Regions from separate parts of the Homo sapiens genome. Here regions 1 and 3 are each linked to region 2. The links are contacts of gene promoters, found by promoter capture Hi-C in blood cells and fetal thymus (Javierre and others, 2016). All regions are on one chromosome and are shown on one strand. Each heading gives the region's core, a stretch centred on a gene start or on the middle of the fragment in contact. The rest is flanking DNA. Distances are from core to core; before and after follow the strand shown.

What was found. The method cuts DNA at HindIII sites, captures the fragments that hold promoters and counts their contacts. A CHiCAGO score of 5 or more calls a contact.
Region 1: a fragment that was not itself captured here is called in contact with the fragment with the promoter of MAP7D2 in region 2 in 1 of 17 cell types (naive B cells); the score reaches 6.1 in naive B cells.
Region 3: a fragment that was not itself captured here is called in contact with the fragment with the promoter of MAP7D2 in region 2 in 4 of 17 cell types (naive B cells, total B cells, total CD8 T cells and 1 more); the score reaches 7.6 in naive B cells.

What each region holds. Positions count from the first base shown.
Region 1 is chrX:19,646,876-19,649,859 of GRCh38, reverse strand. All of the region lies in intron 6 of SH3KBP1 (SH3 domain containing kinase binding protein 1), which reads left to right. Among named protein-coding and RNA genes, the nearest start is that of MAP3K15, 130 kb to the right of the region's middle. The HindIII fragment of the contact is 3,020 bases long and covers 1-2,901 here.
Region 2 is chrX:20,115,520-20,118,370 of GRCh38, reverse strand. MAP7D2 (MAP7 domain containing 2) reads left to right here and starts at 1,464. Exons shown (of 17, transcript NM_001168465.2): 1 at 1,464-1,621. The coding sequence starts at 1,492. The HindIII fragment of the contact is 4,441 bases long and covers 1-2,851 here.
Region 3 is chrX:19,616,092-19,619,018 of GRCh38, reverse strand. All of the region lies in intron 8 of SH3KBP1 (SH3 domain containing kinase binding protein 1), which reads left to right. Among named protein-coding and RNA genes, the nearest start is that of MAP3K15, 100 kb to the right of the region's middle. The HindIII fragment of the contact is 5,174 bases long and covers 1-2,927 here.

The DNA.
Region 1 (2,984 bases), core at 142-2,641, 470 kb after region 2:
ACTAGATTCCCCTGGACTCCAATCCAGCGATTGCCTTTCCCGTAAGCATTAGTTTCTTCATTTTGGCAGAGAAAACAAATTAGTTGCTCCACTAACTGAAATCATATGGTGGTTATCTGTCTTGATGCTGTACCACTGGATCTTGTAGCGCTAGGAGTACATATGATACTCCCACTGTACACGAAAATCCTGAAACGTTTATTTAGTGCTTTTGGCAAGACAGCAAATTGGAGAGGTAGTTACATTATTAAATGTTCAAAGGAATGAACTTTCTGAATTATTGATTTTTAAAAGTCAGGTTTTAAATGGAGATAGGTATGTGGCAAGAAAGACAAAAGTTGACAGCAGCCTGGTAATTACCATGTGTAGAAGAAGATCCACAGTGATACAGATACAGCTCTATCCATCCAACCACATGCACATCCTTTCCCAGACCAAGCAGATCTGACTAATGTGGGTGTGTGTACTGGGAAGTCTTCAGCTGCCTCACAGAAGGAAGAGGAAATAATGGGCCAAGTTAGGGAGAAGAACCTGAGAGTCTGTTCTATAAAGTCATATGGCAAAATGGGTCTGTTTCCAGATCCCCCGGGAGGTGAATGGGCTGTGTCCTGAGCATGTCAACACAGCCCCTTAGTGCATGGCTGGTGTTTGTCGTGGATAAGCCACCTTCCTTAAGGCACTCAGGGGAGCAAGAACACTGTGGAGGAAGCCAAAGGGGAGATCCTGTATCCTCTTCCCCAGCCACTGCAAGCCTAACATCCCTCTTTGTTGCCTTCTAGTTGGAGGAGAGATGTATGGATGCGATTCCTGATTGTTCTGTCCACTTAGCCCTGCAGTGTAGCTGACCTTCAGTTATCCATGAGATATCTGTGTACTGGAGCTAGACATTGCGTTCATGAGGCATGCCCTTTGAAATTTGGGATTCTATTCATTTTAAGCCCAATTAGCCAAAGATGTTTTCAGAGGTAGAGGGAAGCTGGAAGGCTGACGGGAAAGCAATAATTCACCACCGTTTTTCTTTGCTCCTGTATGTAGGGAAGGGCGGGGGCTAGAGGTTCTCAACTAGGGATGTTTGGAAAGGTGTGTGGTGTTCAGGGTACATGCAATGACTGGGGGACACTATAGACTTTGAGTGGGTAGTGGCAAGGGTTGCTAAATGTCCTTTAATGTGTGAGCCAGTCTTCTACCTGAAGAAACACCTCACCTAAAATGCCAGTAAAGGGTAACACTGAGAAGGAGAAACAGGATTTGGGCCTCTATGAAGGCTCATACAGTCATGAGAGTCTGCCTGCTTAGCCTTCTGGGCAGTCTGTCCCCAGAGAGGCTAGATACAGCCTTCCAGTTTTGGTTCAAAGCCACCTTTCTTTCTTCCTTTCTTTCCTTCCTTCCCTCCCTCCTTCCCTCCCTCCTTCCCTCCTTCCTTCCTTCCCTCCTTCCTTCCTTCATCTTTCTAACTTTCTTCCTTCCCTCCTCCCTCTTGCCCTCCTTCCCTCCTTCCTTCCTTCCTTCCCTCCTTCTCTTTTCTTCTTCCCTTCCTTTCTTCTTCTCCTTCCTTCCCTCCTTCTCCTTCTTTCCTTCCCTCTTTCTCTTTCTTTCTGTCCTCCTCCTTCCTTCCACCTACCCATCCCTTCAGTGGCCAACTATCCTCCCCCATGTTTCCCTCAGCAATGTTGTCACATTGTCTGATCTACTGTACTCAAGTTCCTCTCTGAACTGAGTCATTTAGTAGCAATGACAAGTTCTTAGGCCAGTGAGAATAGAGAAGGCAGATGTGTTTGGTGGGAAAGGAGAGAGAGAAGAGAGGGAGAAGAGTTAAAAAGATGTTTCATAATTTATCTAGGTATGAGAATAGGCCCCTGAAGTTTTAATCCAAGAAAAGGCATTTGATTAATACTAATGGACTCCCTCCCACATCTAGGTCAGTGGTTCTCAAATGTGAGCATGCATCAGAATCCCACGGAGGGTGTGTTCCTAGAGACTGCTGGGAACCATCCCCAGAGTTTCTGATTGAGAAAGCCTGGGGTGGGGCCTGGGAATTTGCTTTACTAACAAGTTCTCAGGTGCTGCTGGTGCAGGGACCACACTTCTCTAGGTCTGGGTCCTAGAGACAAGAGAAACACTAGGCCAATTCCCATCTCCGGAGCACTGGCAGGAACAGGCTGAGATGGGGAGAAACTTTGCCATATTCTAGACTTTTAACTATGGCCCATGAAGGAGAAGGGAAGATTTAAGGCCAGCACTTCCCAGAAGATGAGGATAATACCAGCTTCACCATCACCCCTGTCGCTGGGATCCATGCAGAGGCCAGTGTGCTGTGTTTTCTGAAATAGGAAGGAAACAAACCACAGTGAGCCTTACTTTTTTGTGTCCTTCTGTACCAAAGTAAGTGCATTGAATTGGTGGCCTTGCTTGATGTCTGGTAGCTTGGAAGTTTTGGTAAGCCAGGATATCAAAGATGATGGGCAATACTTTCTTCTGTTACTAAAGAAGGGGAAGTTGTAAAAATGTGCAACCTGTTGAAGGTCTCTCTAAACCTGTTGGTTTAATGCCCAAACCGTTACATGTGTCCTTTTTTTTTTTTTTCAGGGAAGCAAACAAAGTCAGGAGTAGGGACAGTGTTTACTATTGCCTTTCCTGAATTCTTTGTTCAGTGATACCAGAAGCACTGGTTGTTTTTGTTTTCCTCTTCCTAATGTGTTAACAATGGTGATGCTTTATTCCAGCCCCACAAAGGGAAAAACAAATATGTTGGCAGGGATGCTGCTAGAAGTGTGAACAGGAATGTGAATGAAATGAACACTTTGAGAGCTGCTATTTTTACTATCGGTACCTGATTTTTCAAAATAATTCTAAGAACAGTTTTTCATCAAATTTGACCTGATGCCAGAATAACATCAAGCTTTTTTCATCCCTGATGTTCCCCTGGAATCATCAAATGTTATTAGTTTGAGTACTTAGCGGCAGTTTAGAGGTGGCATATTATT
Region 2 (2,851 bases), core at 215-2,714:
TATTCAGCTTCATTTTTAATCGTGTATATCTCCCCCCAGGAGTGGTAATAAAACTTTCAGGCTGGTCACCTTCCAACGAGAAAAAACATGCAGCCTGGGGCTCCATGGGAACGGGTTATCACTTGGCAGGCCTGGGTAAACAAAAGGCTTGAGCCGGCCCTGCCAAGATGTCTTTTTCAATGTTTTTGAAAAGATAATAAATGTGCATGGCAGTGGTAAAAGTGCCTACTTAGGAGGCAACCCGTTTAGCAGTTTCTTGTGTGTCTTCTCGGAGAGATCCTCCTCAGAGGTTTTTTGTTTTATTTTGCTTTTGAGACAAGGTCTCTGTCGCCCAGGCTGGAGTGCAGTGGCGTGATCACTGCAGTCTCGACCTCCCGGGCTCAAGCGATCTTCCCGCCTCAGCCTCCCAAGTAGCTGGGACCACAGATGAGTCGCCATGCCCAGCTAATTTTTAAAATTTTTTTGTAGAGACGGGGGTCTCGAACTCCTTAGCTCAATCAATCCGCCCGCGTCAGCCTCCCGAAGTGTTGGGATTACAGGCGGGAGCCACCACACCCGGCATCGCGGAGGTTTCAGTCAGCATTATTTACGCCTCAGGAGAAGAGGAACCAAATTGGCTGCGGAGTAGGGTGTCGTTGAAAGGCCTAGGTCGGCCTACGGCGCGTGCCGCTGCCTCTTAGTTGAAGATCGACCCCAATAGCTTGCTGCTGTCCCTCTCTGGGTGACCGCACGCTGAGGGTGGGGCGTCACTAAACACTGATTACCCGTGCGCCTCGAAAACTGGAACCTAACTATGCATGGAGGGCGGGTCCTCTGGCGTCTGCACAGATGTCACTGGCCCAACTGGCACCCACCTGGGGGCCTAGCCAGAAATTGTTCCCAAGGCTGCATTGCTGAGTTTGCATGCAGACACCCAGTGAGTGTAAGCGTGTGCGTGCTGAGTGAGCACGTGTGTGCGCGTTATGTGCTCTGTGTTCACACATTGAGTGAGGATGTGTGTGCACGGTGTCTGAGAAACTGCACCCTACATCTACACACGCTTTGAGTGTGTATCTGCTACTGTGAGAAGATGCATTTACGCTGGGTGTGCACGTTGTGTGTGCATGTTGCATGTAAGCATCGTATGAAGAACTGTGTGCGTACGCACGCCTTCTGTGTGTGCACTGTGTACAGCAGCGTGTAAGGACGCGTGCACGCCCGTACGCGCTGTGTGAGGACTGTTGTGCACATTGCATGCACACGCTACAAGCGCGCGCCGCGTGAGAACCGGTGCGCCTATCGCACGTGCACGCCCTGCGTGCGCTGTGCGTGGAAGCGGTGCGCCTATCGCACGTGCACGCCTTGCGTGCGCTGTGCGTGGTAACCGGTGCGCTTATCGCACGTGCACGCCCTGCGCGCGTGCTGCGTGAGGACGCGTGCGCATGCGGACGCGCGCGGGTTCGGTGCGGCGCGGCGGGCTTGGCAGTGCGCCTGTGCGGCCGGCGCATCCCGATGGAGCGCGGCGGCGGCGGCTCCGGGACGGGATCCCGGCCTGAGGGGACTGCGCGGGGAACCTCTCTCCCAGGGAAGATCGCAGAACCGGGCGCGGTGCGGACCTCTCAGCCCAACTACCGGCCTCAAGGTATTATCCCCAGAGTGTGGCGGGCGCCCGAGGGCTTCGGGTTCCTGTGGGGGGGCGGGCCCGGCGGCCCAGGGCAAAGGTCCTCGAGCGTGGGGGGAAGGGGCACGGCGCAGAGCTGAGATAAACGCCCTTTCCCTGGCCCAGGATCGTCCGGACGTGCATCCAAGGGCCGCACCCCTCTCTGTGCGAGTGGCGGGGTTCTTTCTTGGGGCGACCTGGGTGAGTGGGTACACATGGGGGGTGGCTTAGGGTGGGCGGCAGGTGTGTTTGGGATGGAGGTGCCTGAGGGGGTGCTGCGGGTCCAGTCCCCGTCCTCGAGGAGCAGCCGGCATGGGGGTCGTTAGGATAAACCGAGCGGGGTTCTGGGGTTGCCCCGGCCTCCGCGCGCGCTCTCTCTGCGTTCTGGGAAACGCGCGCGAGCGCCGCTGCAGCCCGCGGCGAAGGTGGCCCAGCTTCGCGCCTCTTGGCGTTTCCAGGGGGCAAAATCGGCGTGTCACCCATTGGCAGAGGCAGATTCGCCCGGGCGGCCAGGCGTCTGCCCCGGACCGGGTGCTCCTCCCGCCCGGATGCGCTCCCTGTCTTGGGAACGCTGCTCAGGTGGCCGGGCCGCGGCCCTCAATCGAGGCAGCGGGGCAAACAAGGCTCTCAGCCCTCGAGGCTGCCGATGCTGGGAGCCATGGAGGGCTGGTCCCTGGCTGCCCAGAAGCCAGCGAGGCAGCGGAGGAGACTGTGAGGACATTTGGCAGGATTTTAGATAAGCAGGTCTGATGCTAACGTTCTGTAAAGTGGTTGCAGGTAGTGCGGGGGTGTAAGCAGCATGGAAACCGATTTCATGCTGTTTTTCCTGACAACAACTTTTTTATTTTTAGTTAATAAGGCAGGCTATTTTTAAAACATTTTTTATTGCAGTCTAATATGCATTTAAAAAACCACACAAAACTATAATTCGATGAATTATCACATAGTGAAGATGGGAGTATTTTATATACGATGGGCCAAGAAAAGGAAAGAAATCAAGAGAAATCTTCTTAAAACACGCTTTTTCACTGGGGTTGAGGGGGCGAGGTAGTATTTTCTGACTGGGCCTTCAGTTGCATCATTCTTAGGAGGAGGAGATAGCTTAAATCATTTCCAGTTTGTATTTTTCATTATGCTATTTTAAAGGCAGAATTCATTAACTGTCACAGGATAACGTTATAACTACCTTTGAAATGTGTGCTTTTGTTTTTA
Region 3 (2,927 bases), core at 123-2,622, 500 kb after region 2:
CAGGCGTGAGTCACCGCTCCTGCCCGATTTTTTTTTTTTTTGTTCGTTTTTTAAGACAGGGTCTCACTCTTGTCACCCAGGCTGGAGTGTGGTGGTGTGATCGCAGCTCACTGCAGCCTTGACCTTCTGGGCTCAGGTGATCCTCCTACCTCAGCTTCCCAAGTAGGTGGGACTACAGGCATACCACCACATCTGGCTAATTTTTTGTAGAGATGGGGTTTTGCCATGTTGTCCAGGTTGGTCTCAAACTCCTAGACTCAAGTGATCCGCTCACCTCAGCCTCCCAAAGTGCTGGGATTACAGGCGTGAACCACTGCACCCGGCCAATTACTGACCCTTGAAGTGGACTTATGGGAGTAGAAATTCTTTCATTCCACAATTAGAAAAAAGGCTAAAGCATAAACATTTTTTAGAAGACTTTAGATTGCATATGTTGCAAAGGAAATTATGAAATCAATAAATAATTCTGGTATTTTTTTGTATACAAACTATATAGCCATGTTCCACAACTCTAGGAAGTACCAAATATGAATGGTCACCCTGGAGTTGGGCCAGCATGGCAGCATCTGTTGGGTGCTGTTCTCTGAAGAGGCTCCAGATAGAAACTGTTTTTTTTTTTTTTTTTTTTTTTTTGAGACAGAGTCTCGCAGTCTGTCACCCAGGCTGGAGTACAGTGGCAAAATCTCGGCTCACTGCAACCTCCACCTCCTGGGTTCAAGCGATTCTCCTACCTCAGCCTTCTGAGTAGCTGGGATTACATGTGTGTGCCACCACGCCCGGCTAATTTTTGTATTTTTAGTAGAGACGGGGATTCACCATGTTGGTCAGGCTGGTCATGAACTCCTGACCTTGTGATCCACCCACCTTGGCCTCCCAAAGTGCTTAGATTACAGACGTGAGCCACTGCGCCTAGCCCTAGAAACATCTTTTTCTAAGAGGAAAACAGGCTGAGCACACAGAGGCCTTTAGGGCTTCTGCCCTTGGTTGTCTTCTATGAAAATCCCCATGGGCCTTCCTGATTCCTGCCTTCGTGACACTGAACACCTGTGGAAGTCCTGTTCTCTTACTAGGGACTGAGATTTGGTTTAAGGTTTTTTTGTTTTTGTTTTTGTTTTTTCCCCTCATTTCTTAATGACATCTGAACTCAAAGGTTACTTCTGTAGCATTTCCTCACCTATGTGCTGTGAGGGTAGGGTGGTGATTTCTTCAGCTCTCCAGGGTGGATGGGAAGGGCCTTAGCTGGCCGGAATCACCCCTCTGGGCTGATGGCCTTCAACAACCTTTGGCCTCCAGCAGTATGTCATAAAAATAACTACTATTTTATGTGTGCGCCATTATCTGAAAAAAGCTAGGTGGCACTAACTTACTGCATGTATTTATCCTTCTGTATAAAGATGTTCAACAATGGCTCTACTTTAGGGAATACTTCACCTTCCTTGTTAGAGAAAGGAACATATGACTGGCAAAGGAAACTCCAGGATAATTAAAAACCCTTGTATGTGTCTTCATTTCACACATTCTTTCTCTAGGACTTCTTTTGGGAATTAGACCTTGAAATAGCTCAGACTTTTAAAGATAGAGCTGAAAGTTCTATTATATCTAGAATGAAAAAGTCCAGTCTAAATGAAGAAACAATCTTTTTGAGGGAATATATAACTTGGGGTTGCGGCTATTATAGAGTAAAGGGTAATTAGACTTGCCTTCCTGTCATAGACAACTCTAACATTGGCCAAAACATACAAAGTGGCTGTTTTTAGGCATTGGACAATACATATCACAAGAATGTGATCCTGGAGACAAGGGAAGCATAAAAGTGAGTTTTACATCAACCCTGGCTTTTTGCCTAGAGGCACTTTCTAAATTGCAGCACAGGGCAGTGGAGCCCAAACAAAGAGTAGCAGACTCATTTATTGGATAGAGGAAACAAGCTGTAATTCAGGACTGCTGGGGTGGCTCAAATTTTCAGGGCAGGGAACTGCAAAAGAATGAGCTACACAAGGAAAGAGTGTCAGAAATGTATAGATCTAGATGATTTGGCCAAATACTAAGCCAGGCATCAGTAGGGCAAGACTCTACGAGGCCTGGCAGAAAATAAGAACTTGGAGGGGCTGTGAGCTGAGTGGATATCCCAGAGATCACCAGTAATGGGAGATGTTAGAGTTCTAGCTAAGCAGAGTAGAAAAACACGAGGTGCTATCCTCGTGTTGAGAACTTCTGGCATCCAGTTGAGAACCCAGAAAAGCCAGCCACAGGAACAGCACTACCCTAGACCCATTGTAACAAAGCCTAAAAACCCAAGCCTTGACCAGTCAAGCTGACCTGCAAGTAACCTGCCTACCATAGCAGAACTCAACACTCTTTCAGGGAAGACAACAAAATCCAGTCTTTGAACAACAGCATGCACAGTTGCTCAGCAACTGTTGAGATAATATAATCGCAAATGACTAGATCTGTGAAGAAGCAGGAAAATGTGAGGTGGCTTGAAGAAGACATAGGGGTGTTTCTGAGTACAGTTTTCAGGCATTGATACCTGCTTCAGTTAATATTGGCATCCCCAAGAGGAAATGTGTTTACTGTTTTTTTGTGTGTTATCCACCCAGTTTCTTGTTGCTAGTTATATAGTATGTAAAAAGAAAAAAGCAAAAGTTAGTATAGCAAAGCCTGTAAATTGTTGCCTGCTAAGAAGCCAGGATTTTTTGTAAGTAGTTCCACTCTGGGTCATGACTTCGTTGTATTACAAAAGAGTGAGTGACTGCCAGTCAGGCGTGGTGGCTCACACCTGTAATCCCAGCACTTTGGAGGGCCGAGGCGGGCAGATCACTTGAGTTTAGGAATTTGAGACTAGCCTGGGTAACATGGCAAGACCCTGACTCTACAAAAAATTAAAAAATTAGCCATGCATGATGGAGTATGCCTGTAGTCTTGGC